2 separate regions of the Homo sapiens genome follow, and region 1 is linked to region 2. The links are contacts of gene promoters, found by promoter capture Hi-C in human tissues and cell types (Jung and others, 2019). All regions are on one chromosome and are shown on one strand. The core of a region is centred on a gene start or on the middle of the fragment in contact, and the rest is flanking DNA. Distances in the headings are between cores, read along the strand shown.

Region 1 (5,223 bases), core at 1,769-4,268, 1.9 Mb before region 2:
CCATATTAATGAATGTATGAAAGTAAAAATTTCCAATACTATTTATATACTGTTTTTCATAAGACAAAGACAATGGAGAAAAATGCTTCCACATGAGAGAAAAGATAGCTATAACCAATTAAGAAATTACATTTGAGGCAATTAGTAAAGAATAACAACAGCCACTTTATTCATAGTCTGAATTTTGCTTGCCTACCAAATTGAAGTGTGGACCTCTGCACTGTACTGACCTAACATCCCTTTATTATTACAATTTCTTATATCATAGAAATACATGCCAAATTTGAAAACCTAAATGACTTCTGATTCCAAAAACCAAACAGGATCACTATTTTTTGACATTTTAATTTGTCCCTTTACGTATGTATCCATAGATAATAATTTAATTTGATTTTAAGAATTAGAGTTTAGGATACCTTCTGAATAATAATTCAGGGAATAATTTGAGAACACACAAAATTATCTAAACTTACAATTTGACAATTTTGATTAAATGTATATTTATCATTTATAATATAAATTTATTAAAAGTTCCTTTATATTATAGAGCTACAGATTATAGGTGTACATTTTTTAATTATAATACTAAAAACTTTAATACATGATTGTAAATTTATTATGATTGTATGCTCTTCATATTAAAAACCTTAAAATACTCCATTTCAAAATAGAAAACCTTATACTGTTTGAGAAAAAAAAATATTATCTACCACTCTGCAATAAGTTAAGCATCTAGAATGAGGAAGAACGATACTATTCCAAGATTAAAATAAGTATTACCTTTTCTAATATATTTTTGCATTTTAGTGCACATATTTTTATCTTTATCAACCAGTATATGTTTTGTAGATACTGCTGAATTTGGACATATTTGCTGTATGCCAAACTTTAGTTCCAGATTCTATGCAGAAGTCCTACCGGAAGCAGCAGAGAAGCCGGTGCTACAGTGAACAATATGTAAACCCTTTTTTGGGGACCATTTTGTCCAGCATCAACAGCAGCTGAACTAGGTGTTGTATTAGGAAATACCAGTTTGCCATTCTAGGATTCTATGATGGTTAATAGTATACAGTATTGTTCAATAATGGGATAACAGAAGAAAATATCTGTCATATGGAACAATAGTACTCAAAAAGTTCCTTTTAATCACATGCAAATTTACAGTCAATAAATTAACAATGTTTCTATAGGTACTAGTTTAATATCAGTATTTCACAGTACAAGCTTACTTTGCTTTATTATGCTTTACAGATATTGCAATTTTTACAAACGAAAAGGTTCTGGTAACTCAGCCTTGAGCAAGTTTATAGGCACCATTTTTCCTACAGTATGTGCTCACTTCATGTCTCTGTGTCACATTTTGATAAGTCTCACAATATCTCCAACTTTTTTGTTATTATTATATTATGATGATTGTGATCAGTTATCATTGATGTTAATATTGTCATTGTTTTCGGTTGCCATGAACTACATGCCTAAAATGTGGCAAACAATTGGTAAAAATTGCGTGTGTTCTTAATTGAAAAATGTGTGCTTCACCGACTGGCCAATACTTCATCTCTCTCACTATCCTCAGGCCTCCCTATTCCCTAAGACACAAATTTTAAAACTAGGCCAACAATAGCCTTACAATGACCTCTAAGTGTTTAAGTGAAAGGAAGAGTCACACACCTCTCATTTTAAATCAAAAACTAGAAATGATGAAGGTAAGTGGGAGAGGCATGTTGAAAGCCGAAACAGGTCAAAAGCTAGGGTTCTTGTGCCCAACATCCAAGTTTTAAATGCAAAGGAAAAGTTCTTGAAGGAAATTAAAAGTGCAATTTCAATAAACACACAAAAAATAACAAAGCGAAACAGGTTTATTGATGATATAGAGAAAGTTTGAGTGGTCTGGATAGAAGATCAAACCACCCACAACATTCCCTTAAGACAAAACTAATCCAGAGAAAGGCTGTAAATCTCTTCAATTTTATGGAGGCTGAGATATATGAAAGCACAGAGAAAATTTGGAAGCTTTTCTTCTGTAAGAAAGAGGTTAGTTCATGGAGTTTAAGGAAAAAAGCCACTTCCATAATGTAAAAGTGCATGGTGACACGAATGCTGATGTAGAAGCTGCAGCAAGTTATCCAGAAGAGCTAGCTAAGATCATTGATGAAGCTGACTACACTACACAAAATATTTTTAATGTAGACAAAACCATCTTGTGATGGGCGAAAATACCATTTAGGACTTGTAGTTAGAGAGAAGACAATGTCTGTCTTTAAAGCTTTAAAAAACAGGCCGATTCTCTTGTTAAGGGCTAATGCACTCGGTGACTTTGAATTGAAGCCAATGCTTATTTATTATTCTGAAAATCCTAAGGCCCTAAGAATTATTCTAAATCTACTCTGCCTGTGCTTCTTAAATGGAACAACAGCCTGGATCATAGCACATCTGTTTAAAGCATGGCTTACTGAATATTTTAAGCCCACTATTGAGACATACTGCTCATAAAAAAATAAAAAACGATTCCTTTCAAAATATTACTTCTCATTGACAACGCACCTAGTCATCCAGGAGCTCTGATGGAGATGTGCAAGGATATGAATCTTGCTTTTATGATTGCAATCACCACATTCATTCTGCAACACATGGATCAAGAATAATTTTTCATTTCTAGTCTTATTATTTAAGAAACACATTTTGTATGGCTACAGCTGCCACAGGAACATCTGGGCATGATAAATTGAAAATCTCTTGGAAAGGATTCACCATTCTTGATGCCGTTAAGAACATTCATGATTTATGCCAGAAGGTCAAACATTTATATTAACAGGAGTTTGGAAGAAGTTGAATCCAATCCTCATGGATGGCTTCAAAGGGTTCAAGAGTTACAGATGTGATGCAAATAGCAAAACTAGAATGAGAAGTGGAGCCTGAAGATGTGAATGAGTTGCTACAGTAGCACTATAAAAGTTGAACAGATTACTTGCTTTTTATGGATGAGCAAACAAAGAGGTTTCCTGAGATGCAACCTACTGGGGAAGATGCATGAAAATTGTTTAAATGACAAAAAATGATTTAGGAGATTATGTAAACTTAGTTGATAAAGGGTTTAAGATAATTGACTTCAATTGTGAAAGAAATTCTACTGTGTGTAAAACACTATGAAAAGTATCATATGCTGCAGAGAAATCTTTCAAAAAGAGTCGATTGATGCAGCAAACTTCACTGTTGTCTTATTTTACAAAATTGCCACAGCCACCCCAATTTTCAGCTTCTACCACTCTGCTCAGTCAGCAGCCATCAACACTGAGGCAAGATCCTCCACTAGCAAAAAGAGTATGACTTGCTGAAGGCTCAGATAATTGTCAGCCACTTTAGAAATAACATACTTTTAATTCAGGCATTTACATTTATATTTTATACATAATGCCATCGTACTTAATACACTTAATAGAATACATTATAGTATAAATATAACTTTTATATGCACTGGGAAACCAAAACAATTTGTGTGACTCTCTTTATTGCAATATTTGTTTTAATGTGATGGTCTATAACCAAACCTTCAAGATCTCCGAGGCATGCCTGAAAGTCTAGAAAATGTGTTTTTGTTAGATACCTTTTTACAAAAGTATAGAAGCTCAAAAATCTTAATGGTTTATTACAGAATATTAACTTTTAATAATTCACCATATATTTATACCCATTACTACACTGCCTAAGTCAAAAGTAGTGTACAACCAGATAATTTCCCATATGACAATTTTGAATATCATGAAATATTTTTCTGGAATATTAAAGTGAAAGTTGACTAAAATAAAAGCATTTTAGTCTATATATTAAAAAATCTTATAATTTTACATCTGATATAAAATTATTAAGAAGAATTTTGATATATACTGTCACGGTCATACAGACACAGACTTTGGAATAATTTTATGATAGTAACATATGTCAATATAACTCATTTCTCATTCAAATCCAATACACACAAAAGAATTAGCCATGAATGGAAACATTCCCACACAGACAAAATAGTACAATTTTGGAACCAACAAATCTAGCTTTTAATTCTTGCTTTACCTCTTGCTTTCCTTTTGGTTAAATAAGTCCCCGAGCCTCAGTTTTCTCAGACATAAATGGGGAAAGATGCCCCTTTCCATACAATATTTGTATGATAATTAAAGGAACAAATCAATATAGCACACATTCACACTGTGTCTGGCATGTGATAGGCACTCAAAAATGTTAATTCTCTTCCCCATAAGTTTCTAACATTTTTATACAGACTTAATTGAAAAATCTATAATCTCTATATTTTTACTTGTGTAGATTATTCTAGTTGTAGTAAATTATTTTAAAAAGCAAGAAAAAATTGAAATTAAAGTATCAGTGGGGTCCTGATTAGTCTAAAGGTCTTAGATGGATATGTTACACTCCAACCAGAAATATGACAGCCTTGATAAAAACGGCTTAAAGGAAACACACAAATTGCAGCTCCATTTTTAAAATTATGTCTAAAAATTAATATATATAACATAATATCAGAGTATAATTATTTTACTTTTTCAGATTAACCAAGGATGAATGATAGTCATATTACTTTTAATGTGCAGAGAGATGCCAAAAAGGACATCTGAGATCACGTTAGCCCGTTAAGTGTAACATTAAATCCCAATGAAATTTAGGTTTGAATTTTACAATGCATCTCAATCTGAAACCTCCATTACTAATTGGTAATTTATTCCTTTTAACTTCCTATCAGGTTGGCCCTGCCAATCTTATTCCCTTGATCACAATTTTTCACTTGCTCATTTCTAATGTCAAGATTCAGACTACTAATGGACAGCCATGAAATTCTGCTGCCTGGCTGTACTATGAAAGTCACTGATCTCCAGGAATAATAAAGGTCTGTATATTTTATTAATTGGTTAGCATATTCAACTCAATAGTATTTATTAAAAACTTTCTATACACTTATAATTTTGGTATTTATTATAGGGTTATAATTTCTCAAAGAGCCTGAGATTTAGTGGAGGAGCTAAAGCAACACATCTATAGGTATGTGTTAGACAAAGTAGAAAGAAATGACATCAATTATTATTTAAAACTAAGTTTGCTTTGTCCCTGAAGAGCAGTGATTTTCATGGTACACACAGGCAGCAGAACCCTGTGGCTGTCCAACATAAGTCTCACCACAAGCTGTTTCTGCTTCCTTCATGTTTTGACTGACCTACT
Region 2 (5,125 bases), core at 1,894-4,393:
TTATTTCGTAATTACTGTTTTATGGATTTAAATCTACTGCCATATTTTTTTTTGTTTTCCTGTCTTATGTTTCATGTTTTCTCCTTTATTTTCTTAGTTGGAATTACCTGAGTATATTTTAATCATTCCATTTATTTTATTTTCTCTACTTGTGTGTAGCCTGTACAAAGTTAGGTACCCTGTTTCTATTCTTTTAGTTGTGACACTAGAATTATGCATTTGTACTTATTGTATCAATACCTAATGTTAATCAATACTTAATCCTCACACATACATACAACACACACATACACACACATCTGAGTATATTTGTTAAAGTACAGGAAAATATCTCTAAAGATGTCTCCAAATCATCTACAGTGGTTATTGCACGGGGCAAAGGGGAGGTTGAATTGGGAGGGGAAAAGTTGGGGGATTCATTTTGCTTATCACAGTGGTGCATACATATATTAAACAATGACAAAACATTAGCCATCATTATTATCTTTATTCTTGCTCTGTATAATTCATGTTTGTATTTGCTACAGTGTATTTTGAACATATACAGTATATTTTTAACATGTCTATAATCAATGTTATTTAGGGGTTGAATCTGAATGAGGAAAATATGAAGATTTATTTCTAAAACTCAACTAAAAATAAAAAATAAAAGTTTCAAGATATATGGTTTATTGAGTTGTTGGCAATTTGAAGTTTAGGAATGGGTTAGGAGTAGGTAGGAATTTTATGATCAATAGAGCAATCAGTAACAGCTAAAATAGCCAGAAGGAAAATTTAATAATTAAAAGATTTGCAGTAACATAGAACTTAGGAGGGTGATCTCCACAGGGCCAGACTTAGGGAATGGGGTAGGGTGGGTGAAAGATGGCTTCACAGGAAGTGGCTAAAGTATGGAGCTAGGGTGTAAATATTCTAGATTAATTGGAGTCTTTCACAGAGTACCGTCATGTGCATGTAACAATGTTTTGGTCATGGACTGCATTACAATGGTGATCCCATGAGATTATATTTTTACTGTACATTTCTTATGTTTAGATACACAAGTACTTACCATTGTGTTACAATTGCCTACAGTATTCAGTAGAGTAACATGCTGTACAGGTTTGTGGCCTAGGAGCAATGGGCTATACCATACAGCTTAGGTGGGTAGTAAGCTATACCATGCAGGCTTGTGTAAGTGTGCTCTATGATATTCACATGACAAAAAACAAACAACAAAACCCCCATTGAAATATTTCTCAGAAAGTATCCCCGTCCTTAAGTGATGCATGAATGTGCTGCCTCCACAGTATATATTCAAAGGTGACCTTCATTGCATAGATTCACACACAAAAAAAGCCATGTGAAAATACCTTGCCCCTAGATTCAGGAATCTTCTGGACACACTCTTGTTTACAATTTAAATTATTTCCAAAAATTGATATATCTGTCGATTAAATACAAGTATTTGTGCGGCAGGAGAATAGGGTCTGGAAGCAGGGAAGCTAGGACTGATTTGTGCTGATGGGATATCAGTTGAAAGACTACTCCCCTTCAACCCCTCCTTTTTCTGCATGGCAGTTGCTGCCTGGCAGTTGCAAGCCCTTCTTTTTCTGTGTGGCAGTTGAAAAATGAAAGTGCCTCAGATTGGTCCCCTTCCTCAACCAATCAGACTTGTGGAAGACCAATGGGAAACCTCTAGAAGGTATTTAAACCCCAGAAAATTCTGCAACCTGTGCTTTTGAGCAGCTTGCCACAGCCTGCTTCCACGCAGTGGAGTAGTGTACTTTCATTTAAAATAAATCTCTGCTTTCGCTGCCTTGCTTTATTTGTGTGTTTTGTCCAATTATTTGTTCAAAACGCCAAGGACCTAGCCAACTACCCTCAACTGTTAACAGCTGCACACACATATCAAGGCACACCAGCTTCACCCTGCCTGGAGCTTCTTCCCATGCCTAGTTTTCTCTTACAATTCCGGTCTCTGCTCAATTATCACTTCTAAAAGAGGACTTTATAGAGACCACCATGTGTAAAACAGCTTTTCTACATGCCCCCGCCAGCTAATTTTTATTAGAGTACTTATATTATTTGAAATAATATTTTTACATGCCTCCATCCCCTGGAAAATGAGCTGAGTGAGGGATATTGTTGGAGTATCCCCAGTACCAGGCACACAGTAGGCATTCAATAAATAGTTTTTGAATGATTACATTGTCTACGGAATTCTAACATGTATGGGTGAAACAAAGACTCTCACATGCTGTGAGAAGAAAACAAAAACTGGGTTGGCAGAGGCCTTGAATATGAGGAAGTGGCCTTTCCGGATAAAGAAACTAAGACTCGGCCGGGCGTGGTGGCTCAGGCCTGTAATCTCAGCACTTTGGGAGGCCGAGGCGGACGGATCACCTGAGATCAGGAGTTCGAGACCAGCCTGGCCAACACGGCGAAACCCCGTCTCTACTAAAAATACAAAAAAAAAAAAAAAAAAAAAAAATTAGCCGGGCGTGGTGGCGGAGGCCTGTAATTCCAGCTGTTCGGGAGGCTGAGGCAGGAGAATCGCTTGAACCCGGGAGGAAGAAAGAAAGAGGGAATGAGGGAAGGCGGGAAAGAGGGAAAGAAGAAAAGAAAAGAAAGGAAAGAGAAGAGGGGCGGGGCGGGGCAGGGCAGGGCAGGGCAGGGCAGGGCAAAAAAAGACTCAGTGCAGGAAAGGACTTGCCCAAGGTAATCTAGTACGTGGAAAAGCGGAGGGCAGGAGCCTGTGCCGTGCAAGAGCTCCGGGGAGCCAACACCGAGCGGCCCTTTTGAGAGGGTCCCAGCCCCTGAGATGCGGGAGCCCGCAAGAGGGAACCTCTTGTCTGAAGAGGTTGCTGCGCTCTGGAGTCGTGCTCTGGGACAGATGGGCAAGCTCCGCTCTTGGGGCCGGAAGCGTGTAGCGTCTCCACCCGGGCTCCAATCCCCAGCCTCGCACTCAGCACCAGGCAGAGTTCAGCCTCCCGCCGCAAGCTCCCTTCCGCCGCTCCCGGCGAGCACGCAGGTCTGGCTGTCCGTTGGGCTAGAGCTTAAAAGCCCAACACGGGCGAAAAAGACGCGGTCTCAGTTAACGGGGACGCTTTAGAGAAACGCACTCGCCTCTCCTGTTCCGGTTGGGTCGGCGCGGGCTTCTCAGGCGCCACGTGGGATTCGGCCCGGGTGCTCTTGTGAGCTGCTGCTCCTGCGGTTGGTGAGATTACCTGGGTCTAGAGTGCGGAGCTGCTCCGTGGCCACGAGGACGTCACCATGGTGGGCCCCCTCCTGCTCCCCCGAACCGCTCGGTTGGTTCCCCGGAAGGCTCTTGTTGAGCAGGCAGAGAGGGAGGGTGCGGTTTCGGGAACCTAGGAGAGGGGAGGATGCAAAGTGTTTATTTTCAGGGAGTGTGCGGGGTGCGGGGCGAAGCCTCTGGGAGGCGAGTCCCAGGCCCAACGCCTGGACCTTAGAGTTCCGCGTCCGAGTGCTGAAGTGCTCACACGTCGCCTTGCTCCTCTTTGCCTTGTGCCTAACTTCTCGCTAGTCACTACTTCCTGGGGGAAACCCGGCACCTTTCCATTGTAACGCATCGAGGAGTTTGGCAAAACTTCTGAGATCGCTGGCCCTACACACCTCTGCCTCTCTGGCCTGGGTAGACTCAGTATGTGGGCTTAGTCGCCTCTTCCTCGGCGTCCGTTCACCTCTCGTTAGTGCCCTGAATCCTGCCGTTACGCCCCCATTCGCTCCAGGGCACTGAAGCAGTTTTGTTGTTTTTATTAAAAACTGAGTAGATACAAAAGAGTGTTACTAAAGCACATTTCAAGTGTAAAGATGAACAGTTTCAGGAATTCTCGTTTACCCATTTTGTAGTTTTAAGAAATAAAACATAGCCTTTGAAAGCCCTGTGTTACCTTCTTTGAACTTTCAGGAAACCTTAAGAAGCAAACATTATCTAAGTTTTGTATTTATAATTTCACTACTTTTCTTTATAGTTACTACATATATTTGTATTTTGAAACAGTATGTTGTTTCTTGCCTATTTTTTACGTAATCGTTGTGTTCTTGAGAGTAATTCTTGCATAGAAACATGCTTTATAAATTTTTTTCAATTAATTTTTAATAAAAGCAAAATTTTAAAAGTTTATAATCTGGTCAGAAGTTACGATATTGTGTCCACAATGTGGCCTCTTTGTTTCTTTTCATTTTTTTCTCTTTTCATTGTATGCCATTTTTGTCTTACAGTCTGGTTCTTTCGTTGTTTCGCGAGTTTTTTGTGCTTTATTTTGATCCACTGCTGACGCATATTTTGTACTTTAGATTGTACACATTTGTGTAAATTCAGTGTTTGCTTGTCACTTTGCTTGTGGGATTTCCAACTCTTTATAGTGTTAGTTTTTTTCCCCTTTTCAGAGTGGAATATGAAAGCAATTACATCTCATTGTGTTTGAGTGATTGGGGAGATAGATTGGTATTTGACTGTAGTTGTCCTTGACTATCAGAGCTTCACTTTTTATCAGGCTGTATAGTAGAAGTACGTTGCTTTGGCATAGAAGTCAAAAGAGTGGCATATGAACCTGTTTTCATTGGCTCATTTCTGGCTCTGTCATTTTTTTTTGATATAACCTCATTAGTGGTTTTGCTGCATCCTCTTTCAGTACAGCTCAGAATGTGGTCCCAAAGGACAGAGTTGGGCACCTGTCTTTCCCTGAGTTGCCATCTTGGCAAAATTACTTAACCTCCCATCTGTTTAATTGGGATAACAATAGTACCTACCTCATAGAATTGTGGAAATTAAATGTAAAGTGCTTAGTCTAGTGCCTGGCACTTAGTAAATGTTATTGTTATTAACTTTAGTTATATAAATAGTAACAGTGTACAGCTTATAGTTGTTCATCCTTGTTACTTTGCTCATTAATGTTCTCTTATTGTAAATCTTTGCTGGAGCTTAGCAAGTTCATATCTTTATATCAAAATTTAGTTTACCTGTTATATATAAATAATCTTTTCAAATTAATCCATTCCACTCAACACTTCTTTATGCTGCATTAAAAAGGTTTTTAGTGTTTATTATTTTTTATTTTTTTTTGAGACGGTGTTTTGCTCTTGTTGCCCAGGGTGGAGTCCAGTGGCATGATCGCGGCTC

What was found. Contacts are between HindIII fragments. The study calls those that stand out against the background at their distance.
Region 1: a contact is called between a fragment that was not itself captured here and the fragment with the promoter of TMA16 in region 2, in 1 of the 25 tissues and cell types used here (dorsolateral prefrontal cortex).

What each region holds. Positions count from the first base shown.
Region 1 is chr4:161,623,987-161,629,209 of GRCh38, forward strand. The region is part of intron 7 of FSTL5 (follistatin like 5); the gene reads right to left. Among named protein-coding and RNA genes, the nearest start is that of FSTL5-AS1, 400 kb to the right of the region's middle. The HindIII fragment of the contact is 6,404 bases long and covers 1-5,223 here.
Region 2 is chr4:163,491,547-163,496,671 of GRCh38, forward strand. TMA16 (translation machinery associated 16 homolog) reads left to right here and starts at 3,144. Exons shown (of 7, transcript NM_018352.3): 1 at 3,144-3,258. The coding sequence starts at 3,256. LOC124900805 (a long non-coding RNA gene) reads right to left here and starts at 3,678. Exons shown (of 2, transcript XR_007058354.1): 1 at 3,616-3,678; 2 at 468-3,350. RefSeq lists a cis regulatory region at 1,482-1,753 and enhancers at 3,035-3,937, 3,401-3,540, 3,571-3,720. The HindIII fragment of the contact is 18,907 bases long and covers 1-5,125 here.